Linked DNA regions of Homo sapiens: region 2 is linked to region 1. Evidence: promoter capture Hi-C in 16 types of primary human blood cells and fetal thymus (Javierre and others, 2016). All regions are on one chromosome and are shown on one strand. The core of a region is centred on a gene start or on the middle of the fragment in contact, and the rest is flanking DNA. Distances in the headings are between cores, read along the strand shown.

Evidence for each region. The method cuts DNA at HindIII sites, captures the fragments that hold promoters and counts their contacts. A CHiCAGO score of 5 or more calls a contact.
Region 2: a contact is called between a fragment that was not itself captured here and the fragment with the promoter of VAC14 in region 1, in 1 of 17 cell types (fetal thymus). The highest score is 5.9, in fetal thymus.

Annotation. Positions count from the first base shown.
Region 1 is chr16:70,798,530-70,803,268 of GRCh38, reverse strand. VAC14 (VAC14 component of PIKFYVE complex) reads left to right here and starts at 2,111. Exons shown (of 19, transcript NM_018052.5): 1 at 2,111-2,472. The coding sequence starts at 2,369. HYDIN (HYDIN axonemal central pair apparatus protein) reads left to right here. Exons shown (of 86, transcript NM_001270974.2): 86 at 1-1,185. RefSeq lists enhancers at 2,076-2,135, 1,803-2,425 and a silencer at 2,216-2,405. The HindIII fragment of the contact is 5,317 bases long and covers 1,261-4,739 here.
Region 2 is chr16:70,295,968-70,300,627 of GRCh38, reverse strand. DDX19B (DEAD-box helicase 19B) reads right to left here and starts at 1,442. Exons shown (of 12, transcript NM_007242.7): 1 at 1,274-1,442. The coding sequence starts at 1,330. RefSeq lists enhancers at 1,367-1,596, 1,328-1,622. The HindIII fragment of the contact is 1,426 bases long and covers 1,568-2,993 here.

The DNA.
Region 1 (4,739 bases), core at 862-3,361:
GACCTAAAGGTAGGCATTGGTCTGGGCCTTGAATAAAAAACTGGTTACTTAGCAACCTGAGCCAGAATATAATTTCAGGAGAAAAGAATACTTCTGGTAAAAAAAAAATTCCTTATTGTTTGAATTATTAAAAACTGTATCATTACCCTTGGGAAATTCAGTTCACCTCTAAGAAAAAGCCAAACCAAAAAGCAAAAGAAACATGAAATATATTAGATATGCGTCCCGTGGAAATGCACACACATTGGAGAAATAGAACCAAATCATTCCCATTGATTTACATTTTTTCAGTGTTTTTCATCAACCATCATCAAAATCCTAAAACCAAACTTTGCAAGACATTTGGAGATGTCCTTGGCAGCACTACTACTACTTGTTAGCGCACCTACCTTCATTCATAGGATTGTGTCAGCAAAGGTTTTAACAACTATGAAAACCCCACCTGTATAGGAGAATACATTTTTTATGGATTTTTCTAGACATGATATATCCATGACTTGCCGAGTTTTGGATTAGCCTTTGTATTCATTTTCTATGGCTGCATAACAAATTACCACAAAACTAGGAGAGCAAAACAACACAAATTTATTATCTCACAGTTTCCATGGGTTGAGAGCCCAGTGTGAACTGGATTCTCAGCTCAGGGTTCCACAAGGCTGAAATCAAGGTGCTGGCCAGCTGCATCCTCATCAGGAGGCTCAACTAGGGAAAGATCTGCTTCCAAGGACCCTCAATGTGTTGGCAAAATTCATTCCTTTGTGGCCATATGACTAAACTCCTTACAGGAGAGTCTCTCTTCCAGTTCAAATTTCTTCTAATCTCTTTTAAGTACTCACTTGATTCGGTCAGGCCGACTCAAGTTAATCTCTCTTTTTATTAATTCAATGTCTGCTGATTAGGGACCTTAATTACATCTGCAAAATCTCTTCTGCGATATTACATAATATAATCATGTGAGTGATGCATAGCCCATCATATTTACAAGTCTTGTTCACGCTGAAAGAGGGCATAATACAGGGCATGAACACGAAGGGGTGGGAATATTGGAGGTCATCCTAGAATTCTGCCTACTTTTGCCCTTTACTCATTGCGTCCCTGTTTCTGTTGAGGAAAATACTCCATTTTCAAGACTGTTATAAGGCCTATATATGCACTTTTCATTCATTAAAGAAAAGTATCACCATGCATTCTGAAACTGTTATTCTTTGAGCTCCACTGTAATCTAGCCCTTGTCCTAAGTCCCTGTTCACTCTGAAAGCTTATGATAGGAAAGGCTGATGCACCTCCCTGTTAACTGCATGTTTACCACACTCCGGCCATAAATTGCTTTTAAATATTTTGCCACATAGTTGGGATTTCTGTCTCACCATGTAATGTGATTCCCGAAGCAGCTGAAGGGGCTGCTTTCCAGGGGACCTATCTAGAGACCCGCACTCAGCAGATCTGGGGCCTTTCTCTCTGTCTGTAACCAGCCCTCCTAGGCATCAGAGCATGTTAAACACACCCCCAAATGGTGGAGTGACAGACACTGGTGGTACCTGAGATCTTAGGTGGTAGACAGGTAGTGCCATTTTTAATTGAGAATTTATTTTGATGTGTCTTAGAAAAAATATACCTATTCAAACTCATGGTTTTAGGGCATAAGCAAAGCTAAAAGAGATTTAAGGTATTTTTTAAAGTGAGTTGATTTGAGGAAAACATTAAATAGATAATACAAGTGGCTAGAATATGGTGAAAGTGATGACAGTGTTACTGCAGTTAGGGAAACGTCTGCATCTAGGAAATTGGTAAGTGACCAACTACTGAATGAACTAGTGAATTCGGTGACTATTGAATAAATTATGTTAAGTGAATCAGACTCCAAGAACCCATTCGGTCTTACGAACGTCTACAGAAGCCCACCACGTGCCATCAGTTGGGCGTGAGCTACACACCCATTAAAGCACGTCTCAAACCACACTCCAGCTACCTGGCGCGCAGCGCGATAGTGTGTGCAGTGTGGGTGGAGCCTTCCGAGGGCGTGGCCAATCCACCTGCGGCCTGCGGTGGGGGCGTGGCTGGAGAGGGGCGGGCCCTCGCGACGGAAGGCGGAAGTGCTGTAGAGTCATGTGACTCGAGTAACATGGCCGCTGTCTCGTGAGTCCCGCTAGTGCCGGGCGGGAGTTGTTAAGCGGCCAGGGTCAGGTGTGCTGGAGCGGGGTCCGGGCCCGGGTTCCAGGGCGAGGCGGCGGAGCGTGGCAGGCAAGCCTAGAGCGGCGTGGTCCATGCGCCGGCGCCGGGGGCAGAGCGGAGCCGCAGACTCCCCTGGCCCCGGCGCGGCCCCGGCAGCCGCGGGCTAAGGAGTCGCGAGGTTCCCCCAGCTGCCACCATGAACCCCGAGAAGGATTTCGCGCCGCTCACGCCTAACATCGTGCGCGCCCTCAATGACAAGCTGTACGAAAAGCGGAAGGTGGCAGCGCTGGAGATCGAGAAGTAAGAGCCGCCAGGACCCCTCCCTGGCTATGCAGCCCCTGACTGCTCTGCTCCCCAGGGGGACTTCTCACGCCTTCCCAGCCAGGGTTACTTTCCCAGGTTTTAGGCCCTTACCTTAGCGCAGTGTTTAAGAGCAGATTGGGAGCCATATCTGGGAGTCCCTGCTTTACTCCTGACTGGCTGTGTGATTTGGTCCCAGCTTTTTAACCTCCCGGTGCCACAAAGGGCTGCAGTGAGAATGAAGTGACATCATGTATGGGTAGTGCTTTGCACAGTGCATGGCACATGGTGAGTCTTCGGTGCGGTGCCACCCAAACCAGCAAATCAGAGAGTTGTCTCTGTGGTGAGAGAGAAGTCAGAAGCCGGAGAATTTGCAGGTGATGCTGACCAGCCTGGTTTCTTACCCAGCTTCTGAGAAGTGAAGGAGATTGTTAGTGACCAAGTAGAGAAATCAGGTCGGAAAACTCGTGATCTCAAGGCTCAGAGAGTTTTTTGTTTTATCTGTGTTATAACACCCTTCCCTGCAAGTGGAAGTAGAAATAATTTGACCTTTCTTGCTTCTGCAGTCTTGTTACATGTATGTGTAACAATGATCTGATATTTTACTTTATTTCCCAATGTACAAAACAGCGAAAGTTTAACTGGGGATGTTTTATTTATTTTTTTTTCTGCAGTATTATTTTACTTTTGTGGGTTTTTTCCCAGTCACATTTTAGTGTTAAAGTCAAGTGAGTGAGTGATTTCAGAAAATTGGAAAGAAGCAGGCTGTGAAACTGGAAGAATACCAGTCTGCGAGTCAGAAAAGGTGAATTGTATTTCTGTTCTGTCCAGTAGAGTAGCCGTTGGCCGTGCGTAGCTATTATAAATTTAAATTATTAAAGATTAAACTTTAGTTTCTCAGTCACACTACCCGTATTTCAAGTGTTCAATAGCCACATGTAGCTATTGGCTGCTATATAGGGCAGCACAGATTATAGACTGTTTCCATCATTGCAGAATGCTCTATTGGACTGCTCTAATCTATTCCGTGGTGTGACATTCATTCGTTAACCTGGGGCAAATTCCTTAACTCAGGGTTTCTCAGCCTCTGCACCATTCACATTTTGGGGCAGATGATTTTTGGTTGTAGTGGGCTGTCCTGTGCCTTGCAGGATTTTTAACAGCGTCTCTGACCTCTTCCCACTGGATGCCAGTAGCACTCCATCCGTTGTAACAATCAAAAATGTCTTCAGACATTGCTAAATGTCCCCTGAAGGAGCAAAATTGCCCCGGTTGACAACTGCTGCTTGCAATCCAAATCAAATGTTGCTTTGGATTTTAGTTTCCTCCTAAACTAAAGGGTTCGGACCTTGATAAGAAATCCCCCACCCTGCCTCCATTCAGCTCTCATACTCAGTATGTCCACAACCATCTAGCTGCTTCTCTCATCAGACACCACTTTCTTGACTGCTCCTTTTATATAGCTTTTTGTTTATGCCTGACTCTCACGAATGCTAGCAAGTCTTATTGCACATTGCCATACTGAATAGAGGGACCCAGAAATGATATATAGGCATGGTTCCGTGTCCATGGGGTTTTGTTGGCTTTGAAGTTGCCTTGACACCTAGTTTTGTCCCTCACCCACTCTGCTTCTCAGGAATATCCGGTTTTATTGTAGCTTGAGTCGTCTGTTGAGTCCTTGAAGAGAGAGGTATTCATCTCAACATTATTGTTGCTTCCAGCGCAACCTGTGTATCTGTTCTCACTCTGCACACAGTTCTGTAAGGGTTTTGTCTTTGATCGAGTTCATTTTGTATTGGACATTGCCCTTGATTTGTGGAATTTAGAGAAACTCAGCAGTGCCTTGACTGTGAACTCCTTAAGAGCAGAGAGTTCTGTTTATGTATCTGTTTTATTTATCCTTAGCACTTAGCCTGGCAGCACTTGACAGCTGGTGTCCGAATAAATGAATGACCGTACATTTTCGGTGGGGAAATAACATTGCAGGCTCAGGACCTTGCTGCCCAAAAGCGTGGCCTACAGACAGCAGCATCAGGATCACCTGGGAGCTTGTTAGAGGCTCTGCAGCTTTGCTCCAGACCTATGGAATCAGAATCTGCATTTTAACAAGATCCCTGGGTGATTTGTGTGCACATTAAAGTTTGAGAAGCACTGGCCTCAAAGACCCTCTCATCTGTTTCCAACCTTCTCCAGTCATGCTTAGAATGAAGAATGGCTGGTTAGTTCAATGCCTTCCTCAGAACATATGCTTCACAAATTGCTTAGAG
Region 2 (4,660 bases), core at 1,031-3,530, 500 kb after region 1:
AGCCTGGGAAGGGGAGGTTGTAGTTGGCAAGAGATGGTGTCAATGCACTCCAGCCTGGGTGACAGGGCAAGACCCTCTCTCAAAAAATATATGTAAAGAAAGAAAGAAACAGAAAAAAGAGGCTGGATGCAGTGGCTCACACCTGTAATCCCAGCACTTTGGGAGGCTGAGGCAGGTGGATCACTTGCACGCTGGAGTTCGAGACCAGCCTGGGCAACATGGCAAGTCCCCATCTCTACAAAAAAAATACAAAAAGTAGTTGGGCATAGTGGCACATGACTACAGTCCCAGTTACTCAGGAGGCTGAGGTGGGAGGATGGCTTGAGCCTGGGAGGCAGAGACTGCAGTGAGCCAAGATCACTCCACTGCACCCTAGCCTGGGCAACAGAGTGTGACCCTGTCTCCAAAAAAAAAAAAGGAGTTGCCTCTGGGGAGGAAAAAAATTGGCGGGAACCGTTGTTTTTAAAATAACTTCACTCTTTAAACAATGTGTATATACAACTTATTTTTTATGAGCTATAAAAAATAAAAGACAAGGTTCTTATTCTTGAGGAAGTCATAGCAATAAGTACTAACAGAAGTAGGTTCAAAGCCTACTAGGATTTAAAGTGTTTCGGTGGGAGAAATTAATTCTACGCAGTAGTGTTTAACACATCTCTTGCTTACCATGTGTCAGGTCCAGAAAAAAAGAACAAAGTGAAGCCGATGAGGAAAGGATTTGCTGACTGCCACACCTACTGGGTCCATCATTTATCACTGAGGAAGCACACAAATATGAGCAAAGACATGGTCCCTGAGCCAAAGAAGCTCTGAATGTAGAGGTGGAGAATGACACCTAAAATAACTATTACAAACCGGGGCGGCCAGGAACAATGGCTCAGCCTGTAATCCTGGTGCTTTGAAAGGCCGAGGCAGGAAGATAGCTTGAGACCAGGAGTTCCAGACTAGCCTGGGCAACCTAGCAAGACCATGTCTCTATTTCAATTAAAAACAAACAAAACACAATCTAGGGTGATGGGTGCAATCTATGATTCTTCCTGGTTCCAGGAAGACAGACAGGCAGCTGAGCGCTTTACCGATAGGAGCACTCACCTGCGCTTACGTAACGCGGAGGCGGCTGCGTAAACAAAGCCAGCTCAGGGTCCAGGCTCCATCCCTATCCTCCCCGCCACCCCATCCAGCCTCTAATCAACCTGGGAAACATTCTTTCCCAGGGACCAAGTCTCCGACCAGAACTAGTCCCCTGACCCTTTTAGGGCTGAAGCCAACTCACCGACTCAGCCGCAGCTTCCTGCTCGTCCACCGCCAGGGCCCATGAGTCAGTGGCCATGGTCCCAGGCGCGGGTGGGACGCTCGTGCTGGTGGATTCGAGGGATGGCACGAGGGATCGTGGGCTCCGGGGGTTCGCGGCAGGCTCTGCTCCAGCCCCACTACAAGGCTGCAGACCGGAAGCGGCGCGCCACAGTGACGTCGGAGGCCACTCCTGTTTGGCCACCCTTTGCCCACTTGAGGCTGTCGATTCTGTTGCCCTCAGACCCGTACCCCTCAACCCCGGGCAGAGCAAGCTTTCCTATCAAGCTGAGGTAGTTATCTTAAAATGCCTAAGCTCTGGTTAACTTGGATCTCCAACCAAAGAACAAAATCAGATTCCCGCCCAACACAGTGGCAGAGTAGGCACTAATACAGATTGAACAGATTGAATATATCAAAACAGAAAACCATTACCAATAGTCACCAAAATGCAAAACAAGCACAGAGCTGTTTCCCTTTTCAGATTGGTAATTTAAAATGTCCAGATGTTGGCAATCAGCCCTGACAACCCATTTGGTTAAAAGTCCACTTGACCACTATGCAATCTTGTTAGGCATGTAACAAAACTGCACCTGCACTCATAAATTTGTACCCCAAGAGGAGGAATTGCAGCTCTCCTATGTAAGCGTTGTAGAATCAGGAGAATGTTAAAAAGGAAGAAAACAGACGGTGCGGTGGCTCATGCATGTAATCCCAGCACTTCTGGAGGCCGAGGCGGAAGGATCACTTGAGCCCAGGAGGTCTAGGCTGCAGTGAGCCATGACAGGGCCACTGCACTCCAGCCTGGGTGACAGAGCAAAACTCTGTCTAGGAAAAAAATAAATAAAATTAAAATAGTAAAATAATTAAATAGAGCTAGGTGTGGTGGCTCATGCCTGTAATCTCAGCACTTGGGTTTTTGTTTGTTTTTTGAGATTGAGTCTGGCTCTGTCGCCCAGGCTGGAGTGCAGTGGCACGATTTCGGCTCACTGCAACCTCCACCTCCTGGGTTCAAGAAATTCTCTTGCCTCAGCCTCCCAAGTAGCTGGGATTACAAGCATGCGCCACCATGCCCAGCTAGTTTTTCTATTTTTAATAGAGATGGTGTTTCACCATGTTGGCCAGGATGGTCTCAATCTCCTGACCTCGTGATCCGCCTGCCTTGGCCTCCCAAAGTGCTGGGATTACAGGCGTGAGCCACTGCACCCGGCCTTTTGTTTTTTTAAGATAGAGACAGATCTTGCTGTGTTGTCCTGGCTGGTCTCAAACTCCTGAGCTCAAGTGATCCTCCCACCTCCACCTCCCAAAGTGCCAGGATTGGCCAGGCACAGTAGCTCACATGTGTAATCCTAGCATTTTGGGAGGTGGAGGTGGGAGGATCGCTTGAATCCAGGAGTTTGAAAACAACAACATAGCGAGGCCTTATCCTTACACAAGAAAAATTTAAAAATTAGCCAGGTGTCGTCGCACATGCCTGCAGTTCCAGCTACTTGGGAGGCTGAGGTGGGAGGATCACTTGAGCCCAGGAGGTTGAGGCTGCAGTTAGCAGTGTTTGTGTCACTGCACTCTAGTCTGCGCAACAGAGTAAGACTCTGCCTCATAAACAAATAAATAAATAGGAAGAAATATCTTGGGCTTTTAGTAGTTGTAAAATAAGGATTAAATGAAAGAACTGCTTTCTCCTAACTAGAATCAAAGAAGCTTCTCTTCCCTTGTTACTTCCCTAGAAAGAAACTAGGCATTTTCCTACAATCTGAAAAAAATGAATCCCAACCTCTTTCATTTTGCCAATATTATACAACAATAAGTTAATTTCAAGCCATGAGGCCGGGCACAATGGCTCACACCTGTAATCCCAGCACTTTGGGAGGCCAAGGTGGGTGGATCACCTGAGGTCAGGATATCAAGACCAGCTTGGCCAACATGGTGAAACCCTATCTCTACTAAAAATACAAAAATTAGCCAAGCATGGTGGTGCACACCTGTAATCCCAGCTACTTGTAAGCCTGAGGCAGGAGAATCACTAGAACCCGGAAGGCAAAGGTTGCAGTGAGCCGAGATCATGCCATCACACTGCAGCCTGGGCGACGAGTGAAACTCTGTCTCAAAAAAAATAAATAAATAGACTGGGCACGGTGGCTTGCACCTGTAATCCCAGCACTTTGGGAGGCCAAAGCAGGTGGATCACGAGGTCAGGAGATTGAGACCATCCTGACCAACATGGTGAAACCCTGTCTCTACTAAAAATACAAAAATTAGCTGGGTGTGGTGGCATGCACCTGTAGTCCCAGCTACTTGGGAGGCTGAGGCAGGAGAATCGCTTGAACCCGGGAGGTGGAGGTTGCAGTGAGCCAAGATCATGCCACTGCACTCCAGCCTGGACGACAGAGCAAGACTCTGTCTCAAATAAATACATAAATAAAAACAAACAAACAAAAATCAAGCCATGGTGGGTTCTCTGTGGAATTTTACCAGTACTGTAAGAGTAAAAACGTTTTGAGAAAGGGTAAAGCAGTTCCAGAGAACATTCTACTTGCTATGATTATTTTTTCCTGCACTCTCACAGGGTTAACTGGAGAAGACGTTTTTGTTTTTTGTTTTTGACCTTACACATGAGGATGTGCTAAAAAGAAAAAGGCAAACACCACCTTGGTAGCCATGACCTACATCTCATCAATTCAGAAGCAACCCTGGGGATATTTTCCCAGATAAATTATATTGTTTCACAGGGCTAGAGGTTAATGAAATTTGCAAAACATTTTAATGAGGTTAAAAATTACATCGCCCAAGTTGCAGGACCGTATATAGTAGGTTCACTTGTACAAAACAAACAGGAACCCCCACCCCAAAAGCCCCCAAGCTCCCATATATGCTTTTATACACTATGGAAAATGCCTAAGAAGACCGGAGCAGTGGCCTGTGTCTGCAGTCCCAGCTACTCCTGAAGCTGAGGTTGGAGGATCGCCTGAGCTCAGAAGTTCGAAGCCAGCCTGGACAACATAGTGAAACCATCGCCTCTTAAAAAAAAAAAAAATGTGGCCAGGTGCGGTGGCTCACGCCTGTAATCCCAGCAGTTTGGGAGGCCAAGGTGGTGGATCACGAGGTCAGGAGTTCAAGATCAGCCTGGTCAAGATGGTGAAACTCTGTCTCTACTAAAAATACAAAAATCAGCTGAGCATGGTGGTGGGTGCCTGTAATCCCAGCTACTTGGGAGGCTGAGGCAGAGAATTGCTTGAACCCAGGAGGCAGAGGTTGCAGTGAGCTGAGATCATGCCACTGCACTCCAGCCTGGGCAACAGAGCGAGCCTCTGTCTCAAAAAAAAAAAAAAAAATGCTTAAGATACACACAAAACTGATAACCATGGCTGCC